Regions from separate parts of the Homo sapiens genome. Here regions 1, 2, 4, 5, 6 and 7 are each linked to region 3. Evidence: promoter capture Hi-C in human tissues and cell types (Jung and others, 2019). All regions are on one chromosome and are shown on one strand. Each heading gives the region's core, a stretch centred on a gene start or on the middle of the fragment in contact. The rest is flanking DNA. Distances are from core to core; before and after follow the strand shown.

The links. Contacts are between HindIII fragments. The study calls those that stand out against the background at their distance.
Region 1: a contact is called between a fragment that was not itself captured here and the fragment with the promoter of PTPRM in region 3, in 1 of the 25 tissues and cell types used here (mesenchymal stem cells).
Region 2: a contact is called between a fragment that was not itself captured here and the fragment with the promoter of PTPRM in region 3, in 2 of the 25 tissues and cell types used here (lymphoblastoid cells and thymus).
Region 4: a fragment that was not itself captured here is called in contact with the fragment with the promoter of PTPRM in region 3 in 1 of the 25 tissues and cell types used here (mesenchymal stem cells).
Region 5: a fragment that was not itself captured here is called in contact with the fragment with the promoter of PTPRM in region 3 in 2 of the 25 tissues and cell types used here (lymphoblastoid cells and mesenchymal stem cells).
Region 6: a contact is called between a fragment that was not itself captured here and the fragment with the promoter of PTPRM in region 3, in 2 of the 25 tissues and cell types used here (dorsolateral prefrontal cortex and spleen).
Region 7: a contact is called between a fragment that was not itself captured here and the fragment with the promoter of PTPRM in region 3, in 2 of the 25 tissues and cell types used here (heart left ventricle and mesendoderm cells).

What each region holds. Positions count from the first base shown.
Region 1 is chr18:8,052,873-8,056,198 of GRCh38, reverse strand. The region is part of intron 7 of PTPRM (protein tyrosine phosphatase receptor type M); the gene reads right to left. Among named protein-coding and RNA genes, the nearest start is that of PTPRM, 490 kb to the right of the region's middle. The HindIII fragment of the contact is 4,024 bases long and covers 1-3,326 here.
Region 2 is chr18:7,070,178-7,073,287 of GRCh38, reverse strand. All of the region lies in intron 3 of LAMA1 (laminin subunit alpha 1), which reads left to right. Among named protein-coding and RNA genes, the nearest start is that of LAMA1, 46 kb to the left of the region's middle. The HindIII fragment of the contact is 8,767 bases long and covers 1-3,110 here.
Region 3 is chr18:7,565,618-7,568,984 of GRCh38, reverse strand. PTPRM (protein tyrosine phosphatase receptor type M) reads right to left here and starts at 1,669. Exons shown (of 33, transcript NM_001105244.2): 1 at 1,094-1,669. The coding sequence starts at 1,166. RefSeq lists a silencer at 1,619-1,988. The HindIII fragment of the contact is 7,623 bases long and covers 1-3,367 here.
Region 4 is chr18:8,033,349-8,036,648 of GRCh38, reverse strand. All of the region lies in intron 7 of PTPRM (protein tyrosine phosphatase receptor type M), which reads right to left. Among named protein-coding and RNA genes, the nearest start is that of PTPRM, 470 kb to the right of the region's middle. The HindIII fragment of the contact is 3,709 bases long and covers 82-3,300 here.
Region 5 is chr18:8,069,343-8,072,592 of GRCh38, reverse strand. PTPRM (protein tyrosine phosphatase receptor type M) reads right to left here. Exons shown (of 33, transcript NM_001105244.2): 8 at 2,599-2,907. Among named protein-coding and RNA genes, the nearest start is that of PTPRM, 500 kb to the right of the region's middle. The HindIII fragment of the contact is 4,913 bases long and covers 1-3,250 here.
Region 6 is chr18:7,904,566-7,908,006 of GRCh38, reverse strand. PTPRM (protein tyrosine phosphatase receptor type M) reads right to left here. Exons shown (of 33, transcript NM_001105244.2): 4 at 1,424-1,502. Among named protein-coding and RNA genes, the nearest start is that of PTPRM, 340 kb to the right of the region's middle. The HindIII fragment of the contact is 4,661 bases long and covers 1-3,441 here.
Region 7 is chr18:7,185,121-7,188,258 of GRCh38, reverse strand. No RefSeq gene overlaps it. Among named protein-coding and RNA genes, the nearest start is that of LRRC30, 44 kb to the left of the region's middle. The HindIII fragment of the contact is 6,611 bases long and covers 1-3,138 here.

The DNA.
Region 1 (3,326 bases), core at 411-2,910, 490 kb before region 3:
TATCATATTATTATTGTGTTTGTATGAAAGCAAAATATTCAGACTCATCAAATAATTAGATAAATTAATAAATGAAGAATACATCCATAAAGTAATTATTACAATTTCTGATTATAACAGAATGGCATATCATTTACTCTCAAGGACTCTCCCATTTGAAAACAACTAGATCCGGTATAAGACAATTTTTTTAATTGCGTAGGATGTAGTGTGTCTCCAGCAACACCTTACACCATGTCCCTTATCCAAAACAAAGGGTAAGGTGGAACTCTAGTTGTCTATATCAGCACCGGCATCCAAAGATTAAGCCATGGGCCAGGGGCAGGGAAGCCAAATATGATGTTCTCAAGGTAATCTCATACGAATAACAGTGTGTAAAGTATCTGCAGTCAGTACCATCTCCTGATTCCAGCAAACACAAATACAAATCTTCTATAAACACACTGATACATAAATATAGGCCTCCTACTTTCACAAATAAAGCCCACCCAAATATAAGCTCACTAGTAAAGATTAACAAAAATAACAGAAAACAAGATGCCCTGACAGAGTCAAAAGAGATAAGAAACAACAGATTCACATCACTCAAATTACCAGATTCAGAATATAAAATTTGCGTGCCACTTCTAAAATTAAAAATGTAATTCTAAAAATGAACATGTAATACGTCACTGAAAATGACCAATTTTAAAAACAGCTAACGTAACTTTTAGAAATAAAAACACTGTTGAAATAAAACAAAAACCTCAATGGATAGGACATTAATTATGTACTGTATAAAACTAGACAGCAAGATTGGACACAGCTTAAGACAGAATTAGTGAAGTAGTGCATGGATCAGAGGAAATTATCTAGAATGTAGCACAGAAAAATAGAAATAGGAACATAATAGAAAATAAGAAAGGAAGATGGAGGGCAAAATTAGAGGGTGTATCTATGTCTAATTGGCATTCCAGAAGTAGAACACAGGGAATAGAGGAGAGGCACTAACTGAAGACATAATGTCTGAGAAATTTCCAGAATTGACAAGAGATATCAGTCAAAAGATACAGAAAGTATAACATATACAAAAGATAGAAAAATTAAATTCCACATTTAGACATAATGTAGTTAAACCACCAACACCAAAATAATCAAAGAGATGATCTCAAAAGCATCTAGAGAGAAAAAGCACATCACCTACAAAGTAATGGCAGATTGAACAAAGAGTTCTAGACAACAACAGTGGAAGGCAAAAAACAAGGGAACAAAATATTCAAAGTACAAAGAGAAAATATGAATATGTCAACTTAGAACTATATACGTAGCAAAACTATCATTCAAGGATCAAGACAAAATAAAGCTAATTTCAAAGAATTGTACCTGAGTGAACTTACTACCAATGAACCTGCAATAAAGGATCACCTTCAAAAAGAAAAATGAGTTTTGAAAGAAGGTCTGAGATGCTAGAAGAAATGGTGAGCAAAAAAACATAAAAACTTATGTTTGTAAAATAACAATACTGTCTAATTTTAGAGCTTTTTATATATACAGAATTAGACTGCCGACAACAAGAGCATACACACAGGTAGGGCAATGCTCAGAGTTACAGTGTTGTAAGATCTTTCCATCACTGGGAAGGGAAGTTTAAGATATCAACTATAAACTTTAAGTATGCAAGGCAAACTCTCTAGGGTAATCACTATACAGATAGCCATAGGATAATACCTTCAGTAACAAGTAACTCATCTAAAGAAAAAAAGTTATTTCAGTCAATTATGGGAAAAAAACAAAAGAAAAGAAAAAAGGCAAGGGGTGAGGGGAAATGTAGAAAAACAGGAAAAACCAGAAAGCAAACAGAAAAGTGGTACACAGAAGTCTACCACTAGTAGTAGTAATATATATATATATATATATATATTACTACTACTAGTATATATTACTACTAGTATATACTAGTAATGACAATACATGTAAATAAAATATTGTCTATTAAAATGCCCAGAGAATTAAAGGTAAAATCAACATCGTGCCATAATCTGTTTACAAAAAATAAATCTAAGCTGTTTCACTATAACATTTTCCTGGAGGTTCCATTCAGTACAGTAAGAAATGAAAAGTGTAAGAATGAAACAAGAAAAAACAGCACTTTAATTATACACAGACAATGTGACAGGCTTGGCAAACAAGCAGGACCTACAAGTTATACAAAAATAGCAAATGTCAGCAAGGTGACCAAATAGGGGATTAATTTTGAACTCCTCTGCATTTTTTGTATATTATCAAACTGAAACATTACTGAATTTTTTTCATTTACAACAAGATCAAATGATATAAGGAGCCCAGGAATAAATCTTACAAGACACCAATAACAGATAAAAATCCAAAACCTCATTGAAAGACATTAGTGAGGACCAAAATAATTGGAGTTATACCATGTTTATGAATGGGCAGACTCAATGTGGTAAAGGTGTCAGTTCTCCCCAAGCTAATCTATAGAATCACTACAATTTCAATTAAAACCTAATTAGAGTTTTAAGGAACTTGATAAATTGATTCTAAAGTAAATAAAGACGTGCAAAGGTCCCCAAACAGAACACTCCGTAGGAAGAATGAGGTAGGAAAATTTGTTCTATCAGATGCCAAGAGTTATTTAAAAGCTACAGTAACTACACAGTGTGGTGTTGCTGAAAGAACAGACATGGAGCACAACAGAAATCCTGATGTTCTATATGATAGAGGTGGTGTTTCTGATTCCTGGGGGAAACACAAGTGGTGCTAGGAGAAGTGGATTCCTACTCTGTATCATATACAAAAATCAATTCTGACTCAATTAGAAGCACAAAAACCCAAATTTAATTTTTTAAATTAAAGAATGTAGGGGATTATTTTTTCTGATTACAGGGCAAAGAAATAGTTCTTAAGCACCAACTATCAATGAAAAGCTTGATAATTTATGCTACACTAAAATTAAGAACATATTTATCAAAATGTATCATAAGGAAAGTGAAAACCTAAGCTAAAACCTTATTATTGTAAAGAAGGGAAAACAACCAAACACAATAAAGACAAATGATATAAAGAGGTATTTAGTAGAAAAGTAAAAGGCAAAGCACAGAATAGAAGACATTGGCAACCACTAAACAAACGAGAGATATTGATTATATACAGAACTTCCACCAATCACAAGAAAAAGCTGACAACTCAAAAGAAAAGTTGGTAAAAGAACAGGACTTTTGAAGAAGAGGAAAATTATAGACCACAAACGTGAAAATATGCTCAAGCTTAATACTAATCTGAGAAATGCACATTAGAGTCAAAGTAAATTCCATTCTATACCAATCAGA
Region 2 (3,110 bases), core at 164-2,663, 500 kb after region 3:
AAAGTCGTGGTTTTTATGTTACGTATATTTTTCTACAACTTAAAAAAGTTAATACACTGTGAAATATTTGGTGTATTATGTCAGCCAGGGTCAGTCAGGAATATGGAAGCCACACCAGTCATTTAAAGGCACAAATTTAGTGTGAGGAATTGGTTTGACAGTGTGGGAGAGCTGGGAGAGGGAGCAGGAAGGTAACTTGGGGGTAGTAGTGGTGGAGGAGGCAGCAACGCAGGAGGGTGTGGTTATAGCACCTAGAGCCTGGGAAGAGAGTCTCCTATCTTTCAGAATGCTCTTCTGGGGGTCCTGGAAAGCTGGAGGCTGGAGTCAGCTGCTACAGCCCAAGGCAGAGGGCCGCTGCTGGGCAAGGCTGATAGGACCCGGAAGTAGACATGGGAGAAGTCCTGCCTCCCTCCAGCCCTCCAGCCTCCCACTAGTGTCGCCGTCAGGGAGCATCGATTTGCAGCGTCCCAGCCTCAGCATCCAAAGCTGGGCTGGCAGGTGCTTAGCAACCAGCGCAAACACTTCTTCTCAGTAGGTGGTCACTTGCACCAGTATACCAACAGAAACACAGAGACAGAGCAGCCCTCGACATCCTGGGGCAGGATTTTGTTATTATGGTGGTCAGCCACATCCTAAATATGCTCATATTAAGTTTTTTAGAATAACTTTGGAATGAAAATGCAAATTTTAGAATTCTCCTGGAGAAATCATGGACTGCTGTCTAATACATTACAAACTAGGTATTCTTGGTTCTCAGCCGAGAGACTGCATCAGGGCACCAGCTTGGTCCTGGGACCTTCAGGACAGGGATGGAGGAAATACAGAAGCAGTTCCATTTATGTATTAACTATTGGGTTTTGGTGGTGTGATGTGGTGGAGATGCATGAAGTGTGGTAGGGTGATATATACAAAGTGAAATGTGATAGCTTGAAGGATGTAGAGTACCTAACAAACTCCTCACATTTAATAAACATGAGTTTTCTTTCCCTCTGTCATATTTCTAATACACAAATTACTTTAGGTTCCCAAAGATCTTCAGATATCACCAAGGGAAATGTTAAACCAGGCCTTAATAGAATCTAATTACAGTTAGCTAACAGGATTAAGGAGTGCAGTTATGCAGATTTTGAGAAATTCATAAGTCAATAATTATTCTGTTTTTTCTGATTAGGAAATTAAGATGGAATCATCATAGAAAAATGGAAGATAAGATAAGTGTAAACAGGCAGAAACACATCATCTCTTCGCTCTGTAACAATCGCTAATTGATCCCTTGGGATATTTACTTTGTCATTTGCCTACAATTCTATGCATTTAATAATGCTACAACAATACTATCATGTATTACATACTTACTGTGCCAGACATTGTGCTATGCACTTGATCAGGATTATGTCATTGAATTCTCATAATCGCCTGTGACTTGGCTCCTGTTATTATCCCCTTTTGACAGATGACGAAACTGAGACTTAGAGAGTTTAAGAGGCTTGCTCAAGGGTAGGACTCACTGAAGCTTAAGAGCCTGAGCTCTGCATCATTGCACCACTCTGACCCTCCAGCTGAGACAGATTATGTGATATATAAATTTGTGTTCTAATGTTTTATGTAATTGTATAGCATGAACATTTCCCAGTATAACTGAAACTCATGATTAATAATTGTTAAAGCTGCATTAATAGTTTCTATATGGCTTACGCATCATTTGCCTAAGAATCCTCAGGCCTGACATTTTGGTGCTTTTTCTGTTATGGGTAATAACTTGAGCTTTCAGTGAAAAAAGGTTCATTTCGTATGTATACCAATGAAGTAATACAGTGAGTATCAATCATGTTTGAGGTTTATATGACAAATTTATGGTTAATTTTGTTTTGAGCATCTTTTGAAAGAGGAATGTTATTAACAGGTACATATATAGGAATTTATAGATATGGGTTATAGCATTTTTTTCCTCGTCCATGTTATTTCATCTGCTTTTCCCAGCAGTTCTGGAATGCGAGTGATCGCCTCTTTGCAGGTACAAAAATCACGGCACAGAGTAAGCAGGTCACAGGCTTGCCCAGAGTCTACGGCTGCAGGTGCTCAAGCTAGGCCTGGAAACCAGGACCTCTGGTTCCCTCTACACCATGCCACGCTGTCTCCTTGTCTTTGGTCTCCAATTATTGTTTTCCTTTGTTCTGACTTTATGGGGAGACTGGCAAGAGCTCTTGCAATTCCCTCTTGATGTTGGGAGTGTTCAGATTCTAGCCCTTTCCCTCTTGTTCTGTTTGCCTGCTCAGTAGGGTCCTCTCCCCTATGAATCCAGCAGGGTATTGACACTTCCTTCATGCTTTTGCAGTGGCTGATAGAATTGGGTGCTACCTAACGTGTTTTTTTTTTTTTTTTTGATCAAGAAGCAGGAAAATAAATCAGTTATCTCCTATTTTCCTTAAAAAACTTTTAAAGCCGGAGAACATTTCAGTGGGAGTGAGGGTCAGATTTGTGAGTAAAAATGTATAATAGTCTTTTAGAAGATAAGATCTGTTTTGTAAAAAAGGGAAGTTCCCTATGGCATTGAAAATAAAGCTGCCTTTTGGAGCAGTGCTTTATTTTATGTGTAGGTTTAATTAGGAAGTAGCACTTTGTTGTGGGAACATAATCACAGAGGAGCCTTTGTTTTATGCAAACTTTTAGACAAGAGCTGCTTGTGTGCTGGGTTTTGTAAAACCTCATTAATTCAGATGTCAGTTGTTTTTTCCCCCAAATTTCTGAAAAATTGACCAGTATTGAGTGAGGTTTATTATTATATCATTCAAATATAAAGTATTTATTAAGCACATCGACAAGGTCAACAAGAAAATAGGGAAATTTCACATTCTTAAGATAAAATCTTTAAAGATTTTTATTGCAAGAATTGCATCTAAATTGGAGCGTCTCATTACAAGTGAATTTTGGCTGTTCCTGGAAAGAGATTAGGCAGAAACCCTTCCTAGAAGCACTCAGATAGAAATTACTTTTACTGTATGCTTTTTGTACTCTAATGATTCTATTCCAGTTTTCTATTACTTCATACTGGCCTCCACCAATTTCAAATATTAAGGTTTCTTGAATTTGCTTGGTAAAATAAATAGATT
Region 3 (3,367 bases), core at 420-2,919:
GAAAGCCCACCGCCCCCACTGCATGTGGACCTTAATGAAACTAATCTAATAAACACTAGAAAGAAGGTGTGCAAATGGGCCAGCATTTGCCGTCTATCCACCTGTGTCACCCAGGTAATAAAGGTCATCCTGGTTGTAAACCCCTGTGACAGCGTGCCGGGTTCGCCCCCACGCCGGACCCCCGACTCCGATCCACAGATCCTCTCCGTGAGGGGTTCCTCTGGGCTTAGAACGCCCCCGCGCGCGCGTGCAGGCACACACGCGCACACACTCACACGCTTGCTCGCACACCGCCAGTGCCTCTCCTTCCCACCTGGGACCCCCGGGCAGCCGGGCTGGATGAACAAGTTGCAGCTGGCCGCGGCGCTCCGCTAGGGGGACGAGGGTGGGGAGGGGGAGCCCAGCGGGGCGCAGGGCCGTGGCCAGGGCCTGGGGACCTGCCCGCTTCCCTCCGCGGCCGCCAAGCCCTACCGCTGGGACCGGCGAGGAACTCCCCCCAGCCTCTCCGCAGACGCTGCACGACCGCGGGGACCTCCCGGGGTCGCCAGCCGCGCCGGGCAGGGGGCGACAGGGAGGGCAGGGCACCGGGAGATCGCCGCCGCCGGAGCGGCCGCCAGTTCCCGGCGATCGCTGCGGGCGCAGCCGAACACCAGCGGCCTGGGCCCGGCCGCTGCTCGGGGTCGGCGGGGACCGCGCAGCGCCTACGCCAGGCGGCCCGGCGGCTGCAACTGGGAACTTCAAGCAAAGTTTTCTGCTGTTCCTTTTGCAGCCGGCCAGGGACTCAAGAGTGCAAGCCGCCCAACCTTGAGCACTAGCCCAGGCCGCGGAAGGACGGCGGCCGAGCTGGCAGTCCCGGCTGGGGAGCTCGCCCTCGGGGTCCGTCCGCTCCGCCCGCCCGAGGACTGGGTGCCTGCCAGCCCCACGGCCCCTCGCCCAGCGCCCGGCTCACAGGCAGAAGCGGTGTCCGGCCCGCCGCGCCCCCCGCCCGGCCCCGACGCCAGCCTTAGGGCTCTACCACCAGGGAGCTGTCGGCGTCCCGGGCGTCCCGCGCCGGCCCGCGCGCCTCGGGGGCGGCAGAGGCGGTCCCGCTTACCTGAGAACGTCTCGCCCGCCGCAGTTAGCAAAAGTCCGGCCAAAGTCGCCAGGCAAGTCCCAAGTCCCCTCATGGTGCTGAGTGCGGGCCGGGCCGCTCCCCGGCGGCGGTGGGTGGGCGCGCGAGGGCGGAGGGGGCCGGGAGCTTTGGTTCCGAGGCAGCGAGGAGAGACGGGTAAACAGCAGAGCGCTAAGCCAAGCCCCCAAAGTGCCAACAGTTGCAGAAGTCCGAACTCCAGCGGCTCCAGGGGCGCGGGCACAGGGTCCTGGGTCCTCCTCCCCTGTCCCTGGCCCCACTCGGCGTCTGGCGCCGCTGGCAGAGGGAGCGGAGGGCGAGCCCGCGGAGCCAAAATCTTCCCTCGGTTCCGGTTGCTGAGCTCGCCGCCTCTCCCCTTCCCCTGCCCGGGACCCGGGACCCGAGCTGCCGGCCGTGGCCGTGGCGGTGGCCGTGGCCGTGGCCGCGCGCGTTCCGCCCGCCGCCTCTCCACAGGCAGCCCCAAGCCCAGCCCCGGGCGGCGGCGCGCCGATGACCGAGCCCGCGCCGGCTGCGCGCGGGGCTCTTGCTCCCCGACTGACTGGCGGTGCCCCGCAGGCCGGCTGAAGGGAGCGCTCACGTCACGGCCGCCCGGCGCCGCCGCGGCCCGCTAGAGGGCGTGAGCGCCCGTGCCCCGCCGGCCCGCGCCCGAGCGCCTCCGGGAGCTCGGCTGGGGGCGGCCCCGCGGCCACAGCCACTACCGCCGCCGAAGCGGGCGTCAGCCGCGCGGGGAGGAGCGGCCACCGGGCTCCCCCCGCCCACCTCCTCGCCCCGGCCGCGTCTTCTATTTTGGTAGCTGGCTCTGGGGAGGGTGACTGTGGAAGAGGCTGCGCCGCCGCCAGAAGTTTGTCCCGGGTCACGAGCCGCGAGTAGTTTGTGAGCGCGGCCGGGCGGGACCAGCGGCCTGCGACCCCGCGGGCGCGGCCAGGCGGCTTCGAGCCTGGCGCCGGACGGCGATGTCACCGCACAGGGCCAGCTGCACCCGGAGTCGCCGGGCCTGCGCTGCTCGGCGGCTGCGGGAAAAGCGAGCCAGGAGATCGCTGAGGCTCCGGAGGGCTGCGAGCTTCTCTACGCCGCGGGCGGAGCGAAGTTGGCGGGCGCCGGGAGATGGCGCGGGAGCCGGGAGCGCCGAGCCCCGCGATCGCCAGCCCGCTCCCGGCCGGGCCCGCCGGGTACACGCCGCTGGCCCCGAGCACTGGCGCCCGGGAAGCAGGGCGCGCTTCTGCTGTTCTGCGTCCTCATCATGCCTCGGTGTCCCGTGTGGGCCCGAAGCGAGCCGCAGGCAGTACACGGAAGGCGGTGGTCACACCAAAACCAGGGTTTGGACATAACCCGTGGTTTCTGTATCTGGTGCAAAGTGCTGAGAAACAGGGGAGAAAGAGAAGTGGGGGGTGAATCAAGTAATGTCTTGAAATATTTTAGTTTTACGATTTTGGGTCTGAGTGAATTAAAAAAACCTTACAATGCTTCAGCAAAAAATAATTTTTTTATTTTAATTGTAAATTTTTTTGTAAGTGATCCTTCTATCTTCCAGGGAATAAGCACATTGAGCCAGCACCAACCAGACAGCTGTAAGCTCCTGGCCTAGCTAACTGAACGCAATAGAAGGCTTGGGAAGAGGTTAAATTAGGAACCAAAGTAACTGAGTGACAGGGTTCTAGCAATGATTCTGGCTAGAAGGCAAACCGGTGATACAGAGGCACCCAGGAGCTCTCCTGCACTTTTTCCGCAAGAGGGGTCCTCTGCTTAGTGCTCACTGCTTTCTAGTGCTTATAAACACGTAAAAAAATAAATGGATTCCACACTCATCTTGACCCTGTTCTCCACTGTACACCAGAACCAAGAAAGATACAGCTGTCATCCTCCCAAGGCAAATTTGGGGACTAGAAGACTTGCCTTTAGTGTGGCAACCAACACTCCTCTTACTTCAGGAAGTCCACTTACTAGATACTTACCAGACCTGCTCTTTAGAAGTCTCTATATTAATCATTTGCTTGTTAATATGAGCTTACATTGTCCTGCCACTTCTCCCAACTATGTGCTTATGGAACCTTATCTTTAATTGTGAAATGAACATTGAAATCTCAGAAAGGAAGCAATGTCTTCAAGATCAGCAAGTGAGGATGGTCAAATCTGCAACCTGGGCTTTCCATTTTGATGTACTTGTGTTCTATACTGCAGTTCAAATTTGCTTTAAAAAAAATTAGTAATAGGCTTTCCAATGGAGTTTTTCTGCTAGTG
Region 4 (3,300 bases), core at 687-3,186, 470 kb before region 3:
CTGAGAAAGCATAACTTTTAATCTGTGTATAGCTGAGTGCCCACACATTACATTCTGTCCACAAAAATTCATTGTGTGCTGCAGTCAAAATAATAGTCACTTGGGAACAAAGTACTATCAATTTACCATTTTTGCACCTTAGCCAATCCTCCTCCCTTGAGGAACTTATATAGCTAGAGAAACTGAGTAGAAAAAGAGGTCTTCTACCTACAGCCTGGGTTCCCACTGTTTTAGTGTTAAAAAGGAATGAAGGACAATTTAATACAACTACTTACCCAACGCATAAGCACCTCTATAAAAATCTCTAAAAGGTTACTTTGCCTTCTGTCTCAGCATGCATTGCCTTGGGGCAGTAGATGCTGTTTGGGACAAATCAGAGTGTAGAACATTTTCTATTGTGCCAGAACAGCCTCCTTGAACCAATTCATTTTTACTTTGAAACCAAACACAATAATTTTTATCCTTCTGTTCCCCGGAGTTACCCCGACGCCATGTGAGGAGCTATCATGATCCTCCAAGTCTTCCTTTCTCACAGTAACCACCACCAGTTGATGCAACCTCCAGCATGATGTGGCTACTCCGCCTGAAACTATCCTTCTTTGTTGTATTTCAATAATATTTGGAGTGTTTACTCCATTTTGACACCTCATTCTTACTGAGGCATAGGTGCTCTAAGATACTCAGTAAGATATACACTGAGGCATAATAAATATGTCAGTATTATAAAATCATTTCAAGTAGCTTATTTCCTTATTCACCTTGAACCTCAATTTTTAAAAAACAGGGTTGTTAAAAAATAATCGAGATACAAAATACTGTGCATATTTAATGTATACAATGTGATGAATTTGCATATATCCATGTGCTCCTGTACCACAATCAAGGTAATAAACATGTCTGTCATCTCCAAAAGTTTCCTTGTACCCCTCCAGTTTGTGTTTATTTCTTTTGTGGAGAGAACACGTAACATGGGATCTGTCCTCTTTTTATAGGTACAGTCAGCCCTCCGTATCTGCAATTTCTGCATCTGCGGATTCAACCAACCTCGGTCCAAAAATATTGGGGGAAAAAAACAATAAAAATAATACAAATAAAAAATAATATAGTATAAGAACTATTTACATAGCATTTACATTGTATTGGGTAATATATACAATCTAGAGATGGCTTAAAGGCTATGGGAGGGTGTGCACATGGCACACCACTTTATATCAGGGACTTGAGTAGCTGCAGATTTTGGTGTCCTGGTGGGGAGGAGGGGGGCAGTCTTGGAACTAATCCCCCCTGGATACTGAGGGATGATTATATTTTTTCTGCATGATTTGCAGGTTATTTTTCTTCACAGATAGAATAAATCTAAGAATTAAACTTTTTATTCAATTTAGCTGAAATTTCCAAGCCAAATTTTGAAGATGCAGCCTGGTTTCTCATTGCTGCTTATAATAAAATGGAAGTGGAAAAGAGACGAATTGAGAAACTATTAAGCCAAAGACATCAGCATTTGATAGTTTGGAAGATTCTCGGCTATCCAGATTGCAAAGGATATTAAAATTAGGCTGTCCACTGTGGGGAAAGGTGCTCTGGAGAGAGGGTCAAGGGAATGGCTGGACAGCCCTTTGCTAAGGGGATTATGTGTGTGACTCATGGATCCAATCAGCCATGTCAGCAGAAGCCAGGAATAAGAATGGGGTTATCCTTGAAAATTCCATGGAGGCCTCTCTTGTCTAATGACCTGGATCCTCTAACATACACAGGAGACCCACTAGGCTTATGAAAATGTTGTATCAGCACAAACACTACCAGCTTGGACAGAATGAGGACAGAGACAGGATGAGATGAAGGAAGGCTGTTAGACTTCCGGAATTCTACAGGAAGAAAACAGGCTGATAGAGCCACTTGGCTGAAAATATATACTATTGTTCAAGGAAAAGGAAAACAATCCCTAGGGGAGAGCCTTGAGCCCAGAAGCAGAAGCCGGCAGAACTGTGAGCCCAGAGTGGAGCACTGGGCCACAGAGTATTATTCTTAGGCTCTGAAATATAATGGAGTTTGATCTGCTGGATTTCAAACTAGCTTGGGTCTTGTGGCCCCTTTATTCCTTCCAGTTTCTCTTTTGTGGAATGAGAATGTCTATCCTATGCTTGTCCCATCACTGTATTTTAGAAGCAGATAACTTTTTTTTTAGTTTCACAGGTCTACAGATGAATGGAGATTTTGCCCACAGATGGATCACACCCAGAGGCTCAGACATATCTGATTCAGATGATTTAGATGATGAAACTTGGTACTTTTGAGTTGAAGATATTTAAATGGGATTTTGGACTTAGATTTGACACTATAGTGGGTTGAGACTTTTAGATGTTGGGATAGGGTGAACGTATTTTACACATGGGCTGGAGGACCATGTTTTGGGGTCAGAGGGTTGGCTGAGTAGTGGTTCCCCAAAAGATAAGTCTGTGTCTCAAAACCTGTGAATGTGACCTAGTTCGGAAAAAAAAAAAACTTTACACAGGTAATTAATGTAAAGATCTAGAGATGAAGAGATCATCCTAGATTACATGGGTTGACCTTAAATCCAATAATCTGTACCTTTCTGGAGATACACAAGGGAGATTTGAAAACCAAATGAAGTGAAGGCCACATGAAGATGGAGGCAGAGACTGGAGTGATGAAACCAATGAACCAGCACGTGGCAAGAACCACCAGAAGCTAGAAGAAGCAAGGAATGGAATCTCCCCTAAAGCTTCTGAAAGGAGCACGGCCCTGCCAACACCTTGATTTCAGACTTCTGCAGGCTGTGTGAGAATAAATTTCTGTTGCCTTAAGTTATAAAGTTCATGTTAGGAAGTTAGAAATTTGTTACAATAACTAGTAAAAGGTTATCAGTCCATAATTCAGGTACTATCATTTAAAAACAAACTTTTCGGTTTGATAGACGTTAACAAATCTATACAGTGATGCCCCAGAGAATGGTATTTTGGTCAATGACAAACTGTGTATAAGACAGTGGTCCCATAAGATTACAATACCGCATTTTTACTGTACCTTTTCTACACAAATAGATACCATTGTGTTACAGTTGCCTTCAGTATTCAGTATAGTCACATGCTGTGCAGGTTTGTAGCCTAGGAGCAATGGGCCACACCATATACCCTGGGTGTGTAGTTGGCTCTACCATCTAGGTTTGTGTCTGTGCACTCTACGATGTTTGCACAACCATGAAATGGTGAAAGACACATTCTCAGAGTATATCCTTATTGTTGAGTGACACATGACTGTATAGTGTCTATACATATAGTG
Region 5 (3,250 bases), core at 371-2,870, 500 kb before region 3:
CTTCAAACTGGATACTGTTTGACAATTATTCTATTTCTTTCTTCTCTCTGCCTTTTCTGAAGTATTTTTTTTGGAGGGGTTACAAAATATAATTTGAAATTAAAGTTTTTTCTAATTAATGAAACGCTAGTGTGCTAGGAAAACAATAGATTTTTATTTGGAAGTAATGCATGCTCCAGCTTCAGGGACTAGCAAGATAATTTAAACAAACAAAGTAATTCTGTCCTCATGTTTTGATGGAATTTAACAGAATTCCTAGCTCATGACAGTTCTCAATTTGAAACCCATAGTGTTCAATAGGTTCATGCTTTAGCAATATATATCTGGAAGTGACTGCATTTTATTTCTCTCATTGATGTAACCATTATTGTTTATTAAAACATGAACTAAATGCTTATCAACAATACTTTATTATTTCATTTAAAGACCTAAGGTATTTTGGGGTGTTTATTACTTACTCAATATCACGCCTATTGCTATAGAAGAAAAACAGACAGTACTTCTTGTCAAGTAGTTTACAATAAAAAGAAAAAAATACATACAAATAACATAATGAGGGAGCAAAGAAGAATCATGAGTGGCTATGAATCATTACAATACTAAGAAAGGCCCCTTTCTGACAGCCTACAACCAGCTCTCCACATAAATTTCTTCTATCCCTAATGTATCTAAGAATTGTTATTATTCTCACTTCTCAGATCAGGAAATTGAGGGTCAGAGAGTTAAGGATCTTATGAAGTACAATTAAGGTCAGAGGGATGTGAATAACACAGACTGAAGAGCTGGAGACAGCTATGTGAAGGACCTGAAATGTGAGGAGAGCTTCAGCTGGTAGCAGAGTAGGCGAGCTTGAGAAGCGGCCAGGAGAGGCCCCGACTGGCCAAGGAGAACAATCAGGCAACGATGGGAAGCCCAGGATGCACAGAGCAGGCACAGGGACCAGCACTCAGGGATGGCTTTGCAGAACAAGATGCTGTGAAGGAGAAGTTATTACTCCTAGAATATGAGCCAAGAATACAGAAGACCTTGACAGCCAAGGCACTGGAATGAAGATTAAGTGAAGAGCCACTCAAGACTTTTGTAGAGAGACAGCCAAGATGAAAATACATTTTTAAGATTAGTGAGTGAGTGAGTAGGGGGACATTAGAATAGAAAAAGGCTGGAACCACAAAGAAAAGGTAGAAACAATTATAGAAATTTCAGCATAAAATAATAAGGATTTGAATACAGCCAATGGAAATTGACAGAAAAGAACAATCTAAAACTTTGGAAGTAGAAACAACAGATGTTAGGACCAGAGTCAATAGAGAAATGTAAGGCAGGAAGGAGCCAGCCATAACTTGATGACAATGTGGACACCATCTTCTCCTCTTCTGGGAGATGAGAGAGAGTTGGAAGAAACAGAAATAGAGCTTCTGGTCTCAGCCTTGCCTGAGTGGCTTCCATCAAACTTAGACTCCCTCTCAAACAACTGCTTGAGAGGAACCAACACAAGCAGGACTTGAGGGACAATAAAAGAGGAAAGAAAGGATGTGCAGTGAGTTCCTCATCTACTCCAGCTATTTCTATGTTTTTCTTCTACAAAAATACGCAGGTGCTGGGTAGGTAGAAACACTCAAAAATACTTTTTTAGCTCTTTAAATGAAACGATAAAGTAGTCTAAACATTCAACTCACAATTTAATCAATGGTCAAAATTACATTATCAGTTACATGAAGAAACAAAAAGCTAAACAACTATTTTTCTTAGGAATAGTCAGTTCATTCGTTTAATGGTCTTCCTACATTCTTTGTCATTCATTTTGATGCCGGAAAAATGATTTTTAGGTCAAATTTATGATATACTACCATTGTATTTTATGTACTATATGAATATGTCATTACACACAAGGGTTCCCTGTGTCATCTGTGTAAAGAAACATTTATATCCACGCATTGAGATTCAAGGCATAATTTTACTGTTTTAAATTACTATGGAGGTTTCCTGTATATTTGCTTTTTTGATGCGTTACTGGTGACATGCATGGTTTATTTGTAAAGTAGTTGTTTATTAAAGTAACATCCGGTTTCAACATTGTTCCTGTGGAGAAAAATGACCTGTTTCATGACCACCAACTTACAGTTTCTCAAGACTGTGTTGAAAAGCAAGGGCAGCCCCTATTTAGTGCTGAAATTTTATCTGAACTATGAAAAATGTTTCAGAATGCCATTTAAATATATTTAGGTAAACATTTTATATAAATAATCTAATACCCAAAACAACAATTTTTCAGTCCAATGATTTTATATAAATAATCTAATACCCAAAACAACAATTTTTCAGCCCAATGAAATAAAACTTGAAGAACTATTGAGAGCAATATGGAATGATTATATATAGAAAAGTAACTGTATGAGTAATAAAGAATGACATTTCTATATCTCTACTCCCTTTTCCCTCTTTCAATCAGCGCTTAAGAATACAGAGTACAGATACACATTTGTGTTGTTCAACAAAATAAGTAGTTCTTTCTTCCATCTGCACAGCAAAGATCTCGAAACAAAAGTTGTTTTTTGAAAGAACATGTTTTACACAAACATATCATTCAAAGGTACTCACGGTCTTCATCTGTCTGCACTATGAGTTCTTGGCTTTCCTTCCGGCCCTCTGGGTTCATGAGGATCAGTTTCACACTGACATTGGTGTATGGTGACAGGTTAGTGATCGTGTGTTGAGGGTGTGAGTTTTCTGTATCCCAGCTTACTTCTTCTCGCACTTGTTCTTGTCCTCCAACTTGGTAACAGTAGTGGACAGTGAGATTATAACTGTGGCAACGAGTTACATTATATCCAAATGGCTCCCAGCGGATAGTGATTTGCCGAGATTTGACCTCCACTACTTCTAGTTTTCTTGGGCCTCGCATGGGATCTATTTAGAAAAGAAGACAAAAGAAAACATGAGAGAGAAGAAAGATAAAGGCTCAGGTCAATCCCAAAGGTCACAGATATTCCCAGTTGTCCCCACCACCTGGTCTCCTCTTCTTCCTGGATAATAAATCCCTAAATCTTGGCTAGGCATTTGGCTACCCAGAATAAAGATGAAAGTTTCCATTATTTTCTGCAGATGGATGTGGCCATGTGCCTAAGTTCTGATGAATGGCATATAAGATGAAATGTCCAAAATAGTTTCTGAGAGGTGTTCTTAAAAGGCAGGGGCTCACCATCTTTGGTCCTTCTTATTTCCTATTAGCTGGATGGAGGATATGATGTTT
Region 6 (3,441 bases), core at 554-3,053, 340 kb before region 3:
CTGTGGGAAACACTAAATGTTCATAAAATACTAGAAAAATAGAATGTAGTAAATCCATATGATAGAATACCATGGATTGACCTAAAATATCTAACACTTAAGTTAAAAAAAAAAAAAGAATACAGAGAAATTTGTATGGCTGGAAACCATTCATTAGCATTTATAAAAGGCAATCCTTACTTTTTTGCTTTTATAAACCCTTGGGGATTATGGGAAAGAGCACACACATGCGCATACACACACACACACACACATTTGCGGTGTTCAGTTGCTCAGCACTATATGTTTCTCAGTAAAAGTTGAGGCCCAGCTCCCTTGACAGAGTGGGAAAAGCCAACAACTCACTTTCCTAGTGACACCAATTGCCAGGCATGAATGAGTGCATGATCTAGCTCGCTCACCCTGACTATCCCCCTCAGGGCTTTGCACCTAAGGCCAAAGATGCCAAGGCCCAAATCAGCGCAGAATGTCTAGGCAAGGGTCATCTTCCAAGGGTAAGGTGCACAGAGACACAGCGCCAGCTCCCCTTGTCCTCGCAGCTGGCTCCCCTGCCATAGTGGTTGCTGTGGCTGCTTGCGTAGCCTCACTTTGGGGGCCTGCTCATCATCTGAGTCTAGACCACTAGTGTTCTCAGGAATACCACTGCCCTCCAATTCTCTATCAACAGGATGCCTTTTCTGCTTCAAGCAGCTACAGTCTGTTGCTGTGTGCAGACTAGAAACCATAACAGGTGCAACAACCAGCTCACCACTGTGGTGGCCCCTGGGGGGCAGGGTTTGGGGAGAAACAGATCTAGCAATTTGTACTATTTTATTTAAGGAAAAAGGTTCACATACAAATATGACAAACTGTTAGTTGTTCATAGTAGAAATTTTAAAAATTGTATGTTTATCACCTATTGTACTTTTTTAAAGTATTAATTTTTAAAAGATGAAGAGCAGGCCATTTCTGGGGTCCCCAGGTGGTTTAGGTAGGTGTCTTTTATTTGACAGATCCCAGGCCTGTTTGCAGCTATATCACCTGAAACCATGTGATAAATACTAAGGAACTGTGCCAAAAACATACTGGACTTATAAACAAAACGCACAGATTCTCAATATTTAACTTTGTGCTACTACTGAAAAGCGAATTCTAAAGACCACGGCAACAAATAAACAGGTTCTTTGCAAAGATGTCTGAGCATGCCAAAGAATTCCTTGATTCCCCATTCCTGAACCAAATTTTAAAAGACTTATACAAACCATGGCATTTACACAAAGTACATGCTTTTGGATTTCTGGGCTGGCAAACCAACAATACAGGCCTGTCAGGGAACTGTCTTGGCAAGATGACCTCTTCACAGGTTTTCATCCCTTCTCTTCATTCATAATGTAAACATGCCCCCAATGATGTACCCGAATATTTACAAATAAAGACAACTTACTACATGGATGTCCTAACACCTTCACCTCATCGATAGCGAGATAGCCTTGATGTCCAGAAGTTATCACTTCAAAAATCACCTGGAAAATTAAGAAAGATTTACATTATTTATTCATTTTGTCTTACTTTTACCAAGTATCTCCTATATATAAGACACATAATTTCGTTTATTCTTTCACCAATTCATTCATTCATGTACGTAACATCTGCTAGTCAATGTTCCAGGTTCTAGACTACAAAGATAGGCAAGACCCCACCCCAGTCTTCAGGGAGGTCAATAGGTAGTGAATGCGTTAGACAGAACCCCAACTTAGAAAACCCATAGTGAAAGGATACTTCATGGGGTTGCGGGGGATGACACATACACTGTAGGAAAAGCAAGGAAGCTCACAGGATAGTGAGTTGGCACAGACGGCAACTTGTTGGTGGGTAAGCTGCTTGGGTGGAAGATGGGGACACCAAGATAGAAGAGGCTTTGGGGTTACCTCTCCAACAGTTTCAGCAGATAGAAAGGATTCCCCACCCAAAGCCAGGGTTGAGCTTGTGAGAGATCCTGAACATGAAACAAAGTCTAAAGAAGACTTTTAAGGTTGCACTGTATGTTAAACCCACTGCCATACACACATTTGGATTGTGGTTGTTTTCCCTCAAGAGACAACGTTAAGATTCAGATTGCTTTAGGTGATCTAAACCTTTTCTGAAGGTTCTGAAAGTAACTCTCTGACCACACTGGACCATGTGGGGTAGTAAGATTTACACAAGTGAAAAAAAATACAGTAAGTGTAATGAAAGAAGAGTGCAGTGTACTATAAGAATATACACATGGAGGACCTCCCATGAGGAGGTGAAATCTGTGCCAATAGCTACAGGATGAGAAGGAGCTAACAGTGTGAAGAGGACCAGGCTCAGTCCTGGGCACATGTGAAGGCCCTGAGGTGGTCATGACCATGGCCTTCAAGGGGAGAATTGGGACCTACCGCCACAAAGGTCAGCTGTGGCCAGGCTGCAGAAGACTCCACTTCAGGACAGAGACACCAGGAAAGATAGCCTATTAATAATGCAGTGAAGAGAATATGCTAACTGAAAATCAGACAATAAAGCTATGAATCAAGAGGAAAATAATATAAAAATGTCCACAGTGGCAAAATCAAGAGGGCGTTAGCTCTTCCTTGATAATTGGAGAAGCAAGAGAAGAGGAAAAGGCCTACATGCCTGGAGGTTCTAAGAATGGCGGAGTTTTTTAAGATGGTGGAGCCACTTCAGAGAAATTAAGGCAAAAAAGAAAGAACCAGGGCTGGGCGCGGTGGCTCAGGCCTATAAACCCAGCACTTTGGGAGGCCGAGGCAGGCAGATCACCTGAGGTCGGGAGTTTGAGACTAGCTGGCCAATATGGTGAAACCCCAACTCTACTAAAAATACAAAAATTAGGTGGACGTGGTGGCATACGCCTGTAATCCCAGCTACTCAGGAGGCTGACACAGGAGAATCGCTTGAATCTGGGAGGCGGAGGTTGCAGTGAGCCGAGATTGTGCCATTGCACTCCAGCCTGGGCAACAAGAGCAAAACTCAGTCTCAACAAAATAAAAAAAAATAAAAAAAAGGAAAGAAAGAAAGAACCAGTAAAAGGGTTATCAATTTTCTTAATCTGATTAATTGACTAAAAGTGTCAGTTGTCAGGCTATCATTTAAAAGATCCACATGAATGTTATTTTGACCTCCATTTACACACAGAATGAAACTATCTCACCGGGGAACCATGACTCATGATGGTAAGTCTTAAAATACAACCTAACCATTGCACTCTTGGAGATTCATCCCACAGAAATGTAAACTTTCATTCATATAAAAATCTGTGCACATCATATTTACAGAAGCTTTATACATAATAGCCAAACAACAGAAACAGCCCAGATGTCCTTCAACTTGTAAATAATACACTGTGGTCCATCCACTGTATTAAATACTACTCAGCAATAAAAAGGAGCAAATTAATGATGTACCTAACAACTTGGGTGAACT
Region 7 (3,138 bases), core at 142-2,641, 380 kb after region 3:
CTTGAGGAGATATTGGTCAAAGGGTATCAAGTCTTAGGAGAAATGTTTTGCTTGGAGATCCAGTACACAGCATGGTGAATACAATTAATAATAGTGTATTGTATATTTCAAAGTTGCTCAGGCAGTACATTTCAAATCCTCTAACTACAAAAAAGGAAAGCATTTGAAGGAATGGATATGTTAATTAGTTTGATTTGTTATATTATGAATATATTGTATTCATAAATCATAACATCACTTTGTGCACCACAAATATATACAATTATAATTTGTCAATTTACAATAAAATAAAATTCTTAAAAAGAAGACATAAAAAAGCACCCTGTCAGCCAGGCGCAGTGGCTCAGGCCTGTAATCCCAGTACTTTGGGAGGCTGAGGCGGATCTTCTGAGGTCAGGAGTTTGAGACCAGTCTGGCCAACATTGTGAAACCCCGTCTCTACTAAAAATACAAAAAATAAATAAAAAATTAGCCAGGCATGGTGGCGGGCACCTGTAATCCCAGCTACTCAGGAAGCTGAGGCAGGAGAATCACTTGAACCTGGGAAGAGGAGGTTGTAGTGAGCCGAAATCGTGCCACTGTACTCCAGCCTGGGTGAAGAGCAAAACTCCGTCTCAAAAAACAAACCAACAAAACCCACCAAAAAACAAAAAAACAACAAAAAAAAACCACACCCTGTCAGCTGGGCGTGGTGGCTCACACCTGTAATCCCAGCACTTTGGGAAGCTGAGGTGGGTGGATTATCTGAGGTCAGGAGTTCGAGACCAGTCTGACCAACATGGAGAAACCCCGTCTCCACTAAAAATACAAAATTAGCCGGGTGTAGTGGCACATGCCTGTATCCTAGCTACTCAGGAGGCTGAGACAGGAGAATCGCTTGAACCCTGGAGGCAGAGGTTGCCGTGAGCCAACATCACACCATTGCACTCCAGCCTGGGCAACAAGAGAGAAACTCAGTCTCACAAAAAAAAAAAAAAAAAAAAAAAAAAAAAAGCACCCTGTGTTACCAGTTTTGGGGGGTTTGTTGCCATAAGATCGATTGTACCTAGTATTTTTTTTTTTTTTTTGAGACAGAGTCTCGCTCTGTCACACAGGCTGGAGTGCCGTGGCACAATCTCAGCTCACTGCAAACTCCGCCGCCCGGGTTCATGCCATTCTTCTGCCTCAGCCTCCCAAGTAGTTGGGACTACAGGCACCCGCCACCACGCCCGGCTAATTTTTTGTATTTTTAGTAGAGACGGGGTTTCACCATGTTAGCCAGGATGGTCTCGATCTCCTGACCTCGTGATCCGCCTGCCTCGGCCTCCCAAAGTGCTGGGATTACAGGTGTGAGCCACTCTGCCCGGCCTATTGTGCCTACTATTAATAGGTTTCTTCTGGTTGGTGTTTACATGGTTTATCTTTTTTTGTTGTTTTACTTTCAACCTTTCTGGATCCTGTATATTTTAGATGCTTTTAAAAAATAGTTCCTGCAGCCAAGCATGGTGGCTGACACCTGTAATTTCAGCACTTTGGGAGGCCGAGGTCGGTGGATCACCTGAGGTCAGGAGTTCGAGGCCACCCTGGCCAACATGGTGAAACTCCGTCTCTACTTAAAAAAAAAAAAGAATTAGCTGGGCATAGTGGGGCATGCCTGTAGTCCCAGCTACTTGGGAGGCTGAGGCAGGAGAATTGCTTGAACCTGGGAGGCAGAGTTTGCAGTAAGCCAAGATTGTGCCATTGCACTCCAGCCTGGGCAATAGAGCAAGACTCCGTCTCAAAAATAAATAAAATACAAATAAACAACTTATAACTGTTTACTTTTAGTAATTTCTCTCTAAAATCATTGTCATTTTGCTGGAACTTTTAGCACATTAATATGAATTATAATTGGTGTTTAATTTGGATTTATTTCTACCATATTATTTGTGCTTTTTATTTGTTCATCCTGTTTGTTCGTTGTTGTTATTTATTTTTCTCTCATTTCTTGCCTTCTTTGCATTGATGGAATATTTTTTTCCTTTCTATTTCTTTGTTTAATTTCAATCGTTTTGGGAGTACAGGTGGTTTTTGGTTACATGGATCAGTTTTTTAGTGGTGGTTTCTGAGATTTTACTGCACCCATCACCTGAGCAGTGTACATTGTACCGAATATGTAGACTATTATCCCTTACCAGCCCCAACCTTCCCCTCGCTAAGTCCCTGAAGTCCATTATATCATTATTATGACTCTGCGTCCTCATAGCTTAGCTCCTACTTATGAGTAAGAACGTAACAATATTTGGTTTTCTATTCCTGAGTTACTTCACTTAGAATAATGGCCTCCAGCTCCATCCAAGTTGCTACAGAAAACATTATTTCATTCCTTTTCCTGGCTGAGTAGTATTCCATTGTGTATATATACCTCATTTTCTTTATCTCTTCATTGATTGATGGGCACTTAGATTGGTTTCATATGTTTATGACTACAAATTGTGCTGCTACAAACATGCATGTGCATCTGTCTTTTTCATATAGTGACTTTTTTTCCTTTGAGGAGATACCCAGTAGTGGGATTGCTGGATTGAATGGTCTATTTCTTTTGAAACAATTGTGGCAGTTATGCATGATATTTCTTTTTTATCGGTTTATTCATTTCTATTTTTAAAAATATTGAGAACCAACTATATTCCAGGCACAGTCATGGGTGCTTAGGAAAAGATTGATATGCAAAGTAGTAAAGGTTCCTATTCCTGGCCAGGTGCCATGGCTCACACCTGTAATCCCAGCACTTTGGGAGGCTTAGGTGGGTGGATCACCTGAGGTCAGAAGTTCAAGACCAGCCTGGCCAACATGGTGAGACCTCGTCTCTACTAAAAATACAAAAATTAGCCGGATGTGGTGGCGGGTGCCTGTAAACCCAGCTACTTGGGAGACTGAGACAGGAGAATCACTTGAACCCAGGAGGCGTAGGTGGCAGTGAGCCGATATCACGTCATTGCGGTCCAGCCTGGGGGACAAGAGTGAAACTCCGTCTCAAAAAAAAAAAAAAAGAAAGAAAGAAAGAAAAAAAAGGAAAAGAAAATGTTCCTATTCCTGTGAACCTCGTATTTGTCTGTGTGTGTGTATGTGTGTGTGAGAGAGATAAACAATAAACAATAGATATAATTAGCAAATTAA